Regions from separate parts of the Homo sapiens genome. Here regions 2 and 3 are each linked to region 1. The links are contacts of gene promoters, found by promoter capture Hi-C in blood cells and fetal thymus (Javierre and others, 2016). All regions are on one chromosome and are shown on one strand. The core of a region is centred on a gene start or on the middle of the fragment in contact, and the rest is flanking DNA. Distances in the headings are between cores, read along the strand shown.

The links. Contacts are between HindIII fragments. The CHiCAGO score rates a contact against its expected background, and 5 or more counts as called.
Region 2: a fragment that was not itself captured here is called in contact with the fragment with the promoter of LALBA in region 1 in 5 of 17 cell types (M1 macrophages, erythroblasts, neutrophils and 2 more); the score reaches 8.6 in M1 macrophages.
Region 3: a fragment that was not itself captured here is called in contact with the fragment with the promoter of LALBA in region 1 in 1 of 17 cell types (erythroblasts); the score reaches 5.0 in erythroblasts.

What each region holds. Positions count from the first base shown.
Region 1 is chr12:48,568,491-48,571,629 of GRCh38, reverse strand. It overlaps LALBA (lactalbumin alpha), which reads left to right and starts at 1,584. Exons shown (of 4, transcript NM_002289.3): 1 at 1,584-1,742; 2 at 2,390-2,548; 3 at 3,038-3,113. The coding sequence starts at 1,610. The HindIII fragment of the contact is 2,055 bases long and covers 435-2,489 here.
Region 2 is chr12:48,028,206-48,031,502 of GRCh38, reverse strand. LOC105369750 (a long non-coding RNA gene) reads right to left here. Exons shown (of 4, transcript XR_944904.3): 3 at 1,585-1,732; 4 at 55-414. Among named protein-coding and RNA genes, the nearest start is that of COL2A1, 25 kb to the right of the region's middle. The HindIII fragment of the contact is 727 bases long and covers 1,667-2,393 here.
Region 3 is chr12:47,916,950-47,920,197 of GRCh38, reverse strand. No RefSeq gene overlaps it. Among named protein-coding and RNA genes, the nearest start is that of VDR, 14 kb to the right of the region's middle. The HindIII fragment of the contact is 4,158 bases long and covers 1-3,248 here.

The DNA of each region.
Region 1 (3,139 bases), core at 335-2,834:
GCAAATTGCCTGAGCTCAGAAGTTTGAGACCAGCCTGGCCAACATGCAGAAACTCCGTCTCTACTAAAAATACATAAATTAACCGGGCATGGTAACACGTGCCTGTAGTCCCAGCTACTCGGGAGGCTGAGGCAGGAGAATCACTTGAGCCTGGGAGGCAGAGGTTGCAGTGAGCCAAGATCGCGCCACTGCATTCCAGCCTGGGCAACAGAGTGAGACTTGGTCAAAAAAAAAAAAAAAAAAGGAAGAAGAAGAAGAAATCAGGTTTAGAGATGAGGACAAAGAAGACGAATGGTGGCATGAAGGAGCTAAGAGCTACTTGTCACCATGACATGAAGCTTCATGCCAGCAAATTAAAGGAGCTATTCAGAACTAGTATCCTCAACTCTACTTGCTCAGGGGCACTGACCTTATAGAGATTCCAGACATAAGCTTGTTCAGCCTTAAAGTCCAATCTTTCCACTGGCTTGGGTCCTTCCCACTTTCTGTGGCCAACTCTGAGGTTGTCTACAAGTTATTGGTCTTAGATTTATGTAATGTCTCAATGCCAGTGTAGTATTTGGTTATTTACGGTAGGAGTGGTTAGGGGTGGGGAATCTGATAATAGCTCGTAGGATAGCTAGATTCTTTTTTTTTTTTTTTTTTTTTAAAGATAGGGTCTCACTTTGTCTCCCAGGATGGATGGAGTGCAGTGGAGTGAACATGGCTCACTGCAGCCTCGACCTCCTGTGCTCAAGTGTTCCTCCTGCCTCAGCCCCTCAAGTAGCTGGGACTACAGGCACATGTCACCATGCCCAGCTAATTTTTTTTGTAGAGATGGGATTTTACCATGTTGCCCAGGCTGGTCTCGAGCTCCTGGGCTCAAGTGATCCACCAGACTCGGCCTCCCAAAATGCCGGGATTACAGGTGTGAGCCACTGTGCCTGGCCTAGATGCTTTCATACAGGCTTTTCAATTATGCATTTTCCTTAAGTAGGAAGTCTTAAGATCCAAGTTATATCGGATTGTTGTAGTCTACGTTCCCATATTCTATTCCTATTTCTGAGCCTTCAGTCATGAGCTACCATATTAAAGAACTAATTCTGGGCCTTGTTACATGGCTGGATTGGTTGGACAAGTGCCAGCTCTGATCCTGGGACTGTGGCATGTGATGACATACACCCCCTCTCCACATTCTGCATGTCTCTAGGGGGGAAGGGGGAAGCTCGGTATAGAACTTTATTGTATTTTCTGATTGCCTCACTTCTTATATTGCCCCCATGCCCTTCTTTGTTCCTCAAGTAACCAGAGACAGTGCTTCCCAGAACCAACCCTACAAGAAACAAAGGGCTAAACAAAGCCAAATGGGAAGCAGGATCATGGTTTGAACTCTTTCTGGCCAGAGAACAATACCTGCTATGGACTAGATACTGGGAGAGGGAAAGGAAAAGTAGGGTGAATTATGGAAGGAAGCTGGCAGGCTCAGCGTTTCTGTCTTGGCATGACCAGTCTCTCTTCATTCTCTTCCTAGATGTAGGGCTTGGTACCAGAGCCCCTGAGGCTTTCTGCATGAATATAAATAAATGAAACTGAGTGATGCTTCCATTTCAGGTTCTTGGGGGTAGCCAAAATGAGGTTCTTTGTCCCTCTGTTCCTGGTGGGCATCCTGTTCCCTGCCATCCTGGCCAAGCAATTCACAAAATGTGAGCTGTCCCAGCTGCTGAAAGACATAGATGGTTATGGAGGCATCGCTTTGCCTGAATGTGAGTTCCCTGCCTCTGTGTTTCATCCATTCCTCATACGCTTCTCTCCTCCATCCCCTCTTTCTTCCACTTCGCCCCTCCACTTTTACTTAATTATCTAATCATCCTCTTTTCTGCTCATTTGCATACTCTTTTATTTCATGTATGTATATATGTATGTATTTATTTATTTTTGAGGTGGAGTTTCGCTCTTGTTGCCCAGACTGGAGTGCAATGGTGTAATCTCGGCTCACTGCAACCTCCGCCTCCTCGGTTCAAGTGATTCTCCTGCCTCAGCCTCCCAAGTAGCTGGAATTACAGGCACCCACCACCATGCCTGGCTAATTTTGTATTTTTTGTAGAGACAGGGTTTCACCATGTTGGCCAGGCTGGTCTCAAACTTCTGACCTCAGGTGATCCGCCCTCCTCAGCCTCCCAAAGTGTTGGGATTACAAGCGTGAGCCATCATGCCTGGCCCCATTTATTTTCCTATCCTTTCTTTCTCTTATTGTCTGATTTTTTTTTGGAATTCTCCATCTCATCAAGAAACTCTGAGCTTTGCCATCTTTGGAGATTGGCTGGAAAGCATTTTTGTCTGAGAATTACAGTTCCTCCTTTATGCAGATCCTGTACATCTCTGTGGTATCTCTTTCTCATCTTTCCCTCAGTGATCTGTACCATGTTTCACACCAGTGGTTATGACACACAAGCCATAGTTGAAAACAATGAAAGCACGGAATATGGACTCTTCCAGATCAGTAATAAGCTTTGGTGCAAGAGCAGCCAGGTCCCTCAGTCAAGGAACATCTGTGACATCTCCTGTGACAGTGAGTAGCCCCTATAACCCTCTTTCTCTGTTTTTCTGAGGCCTGCCCTTGGGATAATCTCCTTTTTAGTGCCAAGCAGACCTCAGGCTTCATTGCCTTGGCTGGGCTCTATAAAAATTGTGGGACTTGAATTGGCAGTACTGAGTAAGAAGCTGTTTGGATTTTTCATGGTCATCAAATCCCCAGACAGTTCCTTGAGGTTCAGTGGTAGACAATCGGAGCTGTCTGAGAGTCTTGGAATCTGATTGTCTGCATTTTCAGGGTAAGTCAGTTGATGAAGCTGATGATTCCTCCAGAGATATCCCAGGGAAATGAAGGAAGTCCCTACCCAGGGTTAGACATTACCACATTGGTCCTTTCATATAGAAAGACAACAGGCACAAGCCTTGAGTTTAGAGAACCCACTGGATCCAGGGGTTAGGGGAACTCAGTGCCTTTCTGGGTAATACTTGTCAGCTGTCTCAATCCTTTCCCTGTAACTCCTGCCAGAGTTCCTGGATGATGACATTACTGATGACATAATGTGTGCCAAGAAGATCCTGGATATTAAAGGAATTGACTACTGGTGAATCCTTATTCTATTTTCTATTT
Region 2 (3,297 bases), core at 781-3,280, 540 kb after region 1:
GACAAACAGCCACGTCTCTGTTCTCTTGGCCAGACCCTGAGGCCTGGAGTCCTGCCTTCAGGAATTCCAGAATTCTAGAAAGTTAGAGCTAGACAAGACCTCAGCCTTCATCTAGTCTTGCTCCAACCACTGTGCGGATGGGGAAACAAGGCATGGGCTGGGGATGACTTAAGGGGTATAAAATGTTGGGCTTTCTTTTGTCAAGCCCAGCATGTGCCTCCTATAGGCACCAGTGGTCTCTGCAAGTCCTGGCCTGCTGGCCTCGCAGCCACAGAGAGCTCGGACTCTCTCAGGCAGCTCACTTCATTGCTGGAACAATAGCAATGTTCTTCCTAATGCTGGGCAAAAATTGGCCTCCCGCCTTCCTTTAATGCTCACCTGCTTGTGCAGTCTCCAAGGAGAGATAGGTCTGGCCTGCATAGAACAATTGGAAATTAATTCATCCTTAAAGGAAGTGGAGCAGACTGTCCCAGGTCATTCTTGGGCAGCCTCTGCCATTAGATTGGAGAGAAGGCCCAGCACTCTGGGTCTACACAGACTCTGAATATAGAGACCTGGATTCATGTTCTGTTGCCTAAGAGCTATTAATACACGATGGTGAGCATGTTACTAACCTGTTTAAGCCTCAGTTTCCTCTACTGTGAAAACAGAGGTAATAGGAGTTTCCTATGTTGGTTCATTCTCCGTATGGCTCACCCATGATCCTAAGATGGCTACCTAGAGAAATATGGCTAAAGGAATGGGTCATTCCCTCTTGTCTTGCTGGCACCATACAACTTGGAGAACCTGTTCAGATATGCTTCCATAGATCTGCTCAACAGCCCCGGGAGGTAGACAGGGAGGTTTACTATTTATGGTTTACAGATAAGAGAACCAGGCTGGGAAATTCTAAGTGGTTTGTACAAGATCACCCAGCTAAAAAGCAGGAGAACTGGGACTTGAATCCAGGCCTCCTGAATTTGGTGACAGTGCAGACTTGCTCCGTGCCATCAGGCCTGGCTCCTGGGAAGGAACACTTTGAGAAGCCTTAGTGGGGCTTGGTCTCATGCCTCACCCAGGGCCTGGCCATAGTGGGTGCTCGGGGGACCTTTGTCTTTTCTGCCACAGCCTGAGCCAGAGTGGAAGCTGGGCTGTGCAGCAGAGCAGGAACCCAGCAGGTGGCAGGGACAGCCTGGCTGTGCCTGCTTTCTCCCTTGGTGGTGGGGACCACATGCTAAGCTACGTCTGTAAACATGGCCACAGCCTCTTTCTGATCCCTTGAGCTCTGTGTCTCTGCATACACGTCTCTTGGTTTTCTTTCTCCTTTGACTTCACTCTCCTCCCCACTCTCCCCATGCCCCTCCTCTGTCCTGGATTTGATCTTCTGTCTCCTGGCCTCCTTGTCTCTCTCAACATCCAGTGTTTTTTTCTCTTGTTGACTTCCTCTTTCCCTCTCTCTCCCTCAGTTCCTCCTTTGGATCTTCCTGGGTCGAGCAGACAAGTGAGAGGCTTCTGCCGTGCTCAGGGCAAGAGGCTGCTGAGCTGCCCTTCCGTCCCCTCCTCCCTCCCCACACATCCCTCTCCCTTGCCCTGGCCCCTCATCACCTTGGCTGGCTCCTCCTTGATGCATGGGCTGAGGCGAAGGTACAGGGAGGCAGTTAGAGCAGCTTCCCTGGATACAAAAGCTTCTTTCTACCCCTTGGAGATGAGGTTTCCAGGCAGGTTATTTTTATAGCAGGGCTCAGGCAGGATTCTTCAGAGAAAATAAACAAAGTCATACACACCAGTCCTTCACACCCTTCAGCCCCTTCCCTGGAGAGGGGCCCAGCCTAGCTGTGCCGACACAGGGACGCCCACCACCCCAGAGGGGCTGTGGGGGCTGCTGCCGGGATATCAAGAGGCCAGGGGTCTGGGATGGGGGAGGGGGCGCCAAGGAGGGAGACTGACACAGGTCCCCTGCAGCCCCAGTCAGGCCAGGAGGAGATGGCTGGAACCTTGGGGTCCCTGCCTCACCACTGGGGCCAGAGTCTTGGGTCCGGCATCTGTAGGGGAGAGTCAGATTCAAATGCAGGCGTAACCCAAATTTTCTAAATGCTTACCAAGTGCCAGGCACTGTGCTTGCAATTTACAAACACATTTTACTTATTCCTCATCACTGAATTCACTGAATTCAGTAGAAGTCATTTCTACAAGTTGCCACTTAGTATTGGCCTCTATGTGCCTGGCACTCTGTTAGGTGCTAGGGAGACAAGATTAAATGACACATGGAGAGAGAGAGAGCTCAGAGAGCTTTCCAGCTGGTGAGACATTGATTGAATCCCTTACTATGAAGATTTCAAGGTGGATATTTTTATGCTCATTTTGCAGATGAGAAAAGAGACTTAGTGAGGTCAAGTGACTTGTCCAGGGAAGCTTGGACCTTTGATGTCAAGGGCATAAGGGATCAGGGACTCAGAGATCTCTTGGGGCAGGTTTCTTGGGGGTAGAAATGTCAGCTAAGAGGGTGTAGAGGGCAAGAAGCCTGAGATGGGATAGGAGAACAAGGTACAAATCCACGTGCAGTTTTCCTGGGGTCTTGGGCCATTCCAGACCTAGGGTGGAGCACACGTGGTCCCTCATTCTTGAGGGCAGGCAGTCAACAATATCTTGTCTAACAGATCCCAGAAAGGAAGGCCTTTCATAACCAGATTGGCTGCAGTCTTCTCAAAGCTCTTTTATGAGGAAGCCTCAGGTTAAAAAAAACTTCATAAATCATGTGCATTCCCCGTCAGGCATGACAAAAATACATGACCCTTGTGGGTCCCTGCCCAGTGAAGGCAAACAGCTCACTGAGGCAACGCTGGGAGTGCACACAGGCCTGCCACTGTCCTCCACCTCCCTCAGCCGAGCATGTTCCCCAGCTCAGGGCAGCCCCCATCATCCTTGACAGGCCAGGGAATTCCAGATACCAGACAATCATTCTAATGACCCTTCAGGAGTGAGTTTCAGTGTGCTGCCTTAGCCTCCACAGGCATTCGGCCTTTTTTTTTTTTCTTTTGAGGTGGAGTCTCGCTCTGTCACCAGGCTGGAGTGCAGTGGCGCGATCTCGGCTCACCGCAACCTCTGCCTCCCGGGTTCAAGCAATTCTCCTGCCTCAGCCTCCTGAGTACCTGGGACTACAGGCACACGTCACCACGCCCAGCTAATTTTTGTATTTTTAGTAGAGACGGGGTTTCACCATGTTGCCCAGGATGGTCTCCATCTCTTGACCTCATGATCTGCTTGCCTCAGCTTCCCAAAGTGCTGGGATTACAGGCGTGAGCCACCACGCCCGGCCTC
Region 3 (3,248 bases), core at 444-2,943, 650 kb after region 1:
ATATAGTATTCCATTTTGGAACATGCCACAATTTATCTATTCATTATTCCATTGACGAATATATTTTTAAGTTTTTTGGCTATTATAAACAATTTTTAAGTGAATGTTTTGTACCTGTCTCTTGGTGCATGTGAACAACAGTTTCTCTGGAGTACATAATTCGGAGTGAAATTGCTGGATTATAAGGTCTGAGCACATTAAACTTCCCTAGGTAGAGATCAGCTGTTCTTTATGGTGGGTCCAACTGACCCACCAGATGAGAGTTACAACTGCCCCACGTCTCTGGTAAAACTTGAGTTGACTGACCTTTCAACTTGGGAGATGTGAAATGATATCTTATTGTGGTTTTAATTTGCATTTCCCTGATTACTAATGAGGACTTTTTCCCCTCATATGTTTACGGATAATTTGTGTTTCCTTTACTGTGAAATGCCTACTCAAATCTTCTGCTCATCTTTCTATGTAATAGTTTACATTTTTATGATTGTCTCATAGCCATCCTTTATATATCTTTGATATTGATCTGTTGTTGGTTAACCATGCGGCAATTATCTTGTTCCACTCTTTGGCTTGTCTTTTCACTATTTTGTTGTCTTTTTTTTTTTTTTTTTTTTTTGAGACGAAGTCTCACTCACTCTGTCACCCAGGCTGGAGTGCAGTGTTGCGGTCACGATCTCAGCTCACTGAAACCTCTGCCTCCCGGTTCAAACGATTCTCCTGCCTCAGCCTTGTGAATATCTGGGATTTACAGGTGCCTGCTACCATGCCAGGCTTATTTTGGTATTTTTAATAAAGATGGGATTTCGCCGTGTTGGCAAGGCTGGTCTCAAACTCCTGACTTCAAGTGATCCACCTGCCCCGGCCTCCCAAACTGTTGGGATTATAGGCGTGAGCCACCGCACCTGGCCATTGTCTTTTTATAGCAGAGATTCTCCACTGTGACATAGTCAAATTGGTTAGTCATTTAGTTTACCCCTTTTCTTTCTCGCTTAAGAAATACCCCTTTTAAAACATTCAATAAATTTTCATTTTAGAGTAGTTTAAGATTTATAGAAAAGTTGAGGCCATGCCTCAACTGCTGGCTCATGCCTGGAATCCCAGCACTTTGGGAAGCCAAAGTAGGTGGACTGTGTGAGCCCAGGAGTTTGAGATCAGCCTGGGCAACATAGAAAGACACTGTTTTTTTTTAAAAAAAAAAAAGTTGCATGAGTATTAAAGAGAGTTCTTATATACACTTCACACCTAGTTTCCCCTGTTATTAACATCTTACATTATGATGGTGCATTTGTGACAACTAATGACCAAATATTGCTATATGATTATTTTCTGAGGTCCCTGGTTTATTTGCATTTCTTTGGCTTTCCTGTTTTAGGATCCCATCCAGGACACCACATTACATTAGCCATCATGTCTCCTTTGGCTCCTCTAGACTATGATGGTTTCTCAAACTTCCCAAGTTTTTGATGATCTTGACAGTTTTGAGGAGGACTGGTCAGGTATTTTTTAGAATGTCCTTCGACTTGGGTTTGTCTGATCTCTTTGTTTCATAGTTACACAGGAAGTATGTGTTTTAGGGAAGAAGACCATAGAGGTAGACTGTCATTTTCATCATATCCTATCAAAGGTATATGCTATTAATATTAACTTATCACCAATAATGTTCACCTTGACCACCTGGCTGAGGTAGTGTTTGCTAGTTCTCCTCACTGTAAAGTTACATTTCTCACCCTTTTCCATACTGTGCTTGTAAAAGGAAATAATAACATGCACACCACACTGAATGAGTAGGGAATGATGCTTCACCTCCTTGAGTGGGTGGTATCTATGTAAGCTATTTGGAATTCTCTTATAGAGGGGATTTATCTAACTAATCTCCCCTACTCATTTACTCATTCAGTCACTAACTGATATTTATTTATTTGTCATGAATATTGATTTATGAAACATGGGTGGCAGAAGCAAGTTTTCACTATTGGAGAGGGAGGTTACAGAAAAGCAAGAAAACAAGGCTAGAATGAACCTTGGAGTTCTGGATGACAGTTAAAAACATTAATATGAACTCATGAACTATGTTGCCCAGGTTGGTCTCGAAATCCTGAGTTCAAGTGATCTTTCCACTTTTGCCTCCCAAAGTGCTGGGATTACAGGTATGAGGCACCAAGCACAACCCTTTAACTTTTTCTTTTTTTCTGAGACAGAGTCTCACGCTGTTGTGCAAGCTGTAGTGCAGTGGCATGATTTTGGCTCACTGCAGCCTCAACCTCCCAAGCTCAAGTTATCCTCCCACCTCAGCTTCCCAAGTAGCTGGGACCACAGGCATGCACCACCACACCTGGCTAATTTTTGTATGTTTTGTAAAGGTGGAGTTTCACCATGTTGCCCAGGTTGGTCTCGAAATCCTGGGCTCAAGTGATCTGCCTGCCTCAGCCTCCCAAAGTGCTAGGTTTATAGGCATGAGCCACTGCACCTGGCCCTAACTTTTTAAATAGGATGCTTAGCACATTAATTTTGAGCTTTAAAAAAAATTAATGTAAACATTCGCAACTATAGCACATGGACTCTAAAGCCTGATTTCCTGAGTCCAATTCCTAGCTCTGCTACTTCTAGCTGTGTGACTTCAGTTAGTTTTTTTGTGTGTGTGCGCTTCAGTTTCCTCATTTGTACTTGCCTCAAGGGTTGTTATGAAAATTAAGGCTGGGTGCGGTGGCTCATGCCAGTGGTCCCAGCACTTTTGGAGGCTTAGGTGGGTGGATCACTTGAGCTCAGAAGCTGAAGACCAGCCTGGGCAACATGGCGAAACTCTGTCCCTACAAAAATACAAAAATTAGCCAGGTATGGTGGCACATGACTGTAGAGGCTGAGGTGGGAAGATTATTTGAGCCTGGAAGGTTGAGGTTGCTATGAGCTATGATCACTGCACTCCAGCCCAGGTAACAGAGCGAGACCCCATTTCAAAACAGAAAACTTAAATGAGTAACACATGTAGAGTACATAAAACAATGTCCACCACATAGTAAATGCTAAGCAAGTATTAGTATTATACACATCCCTCTAAGTACAATTTTAGTTGCATCCATAAATTTCAATATACAGCATTGTTATTATTATGTTCTGAATATTTTCTCTTTTAGTCTATGGTTTATTCTTCAGAAATACATTTAAAATTTCTGGTTGGAAAAGGTTTTTCCTGGACTCTTTATTATTGACTATTGTGATGTTCATCAGTATTTCCAGTTCTCCCTTCCTGG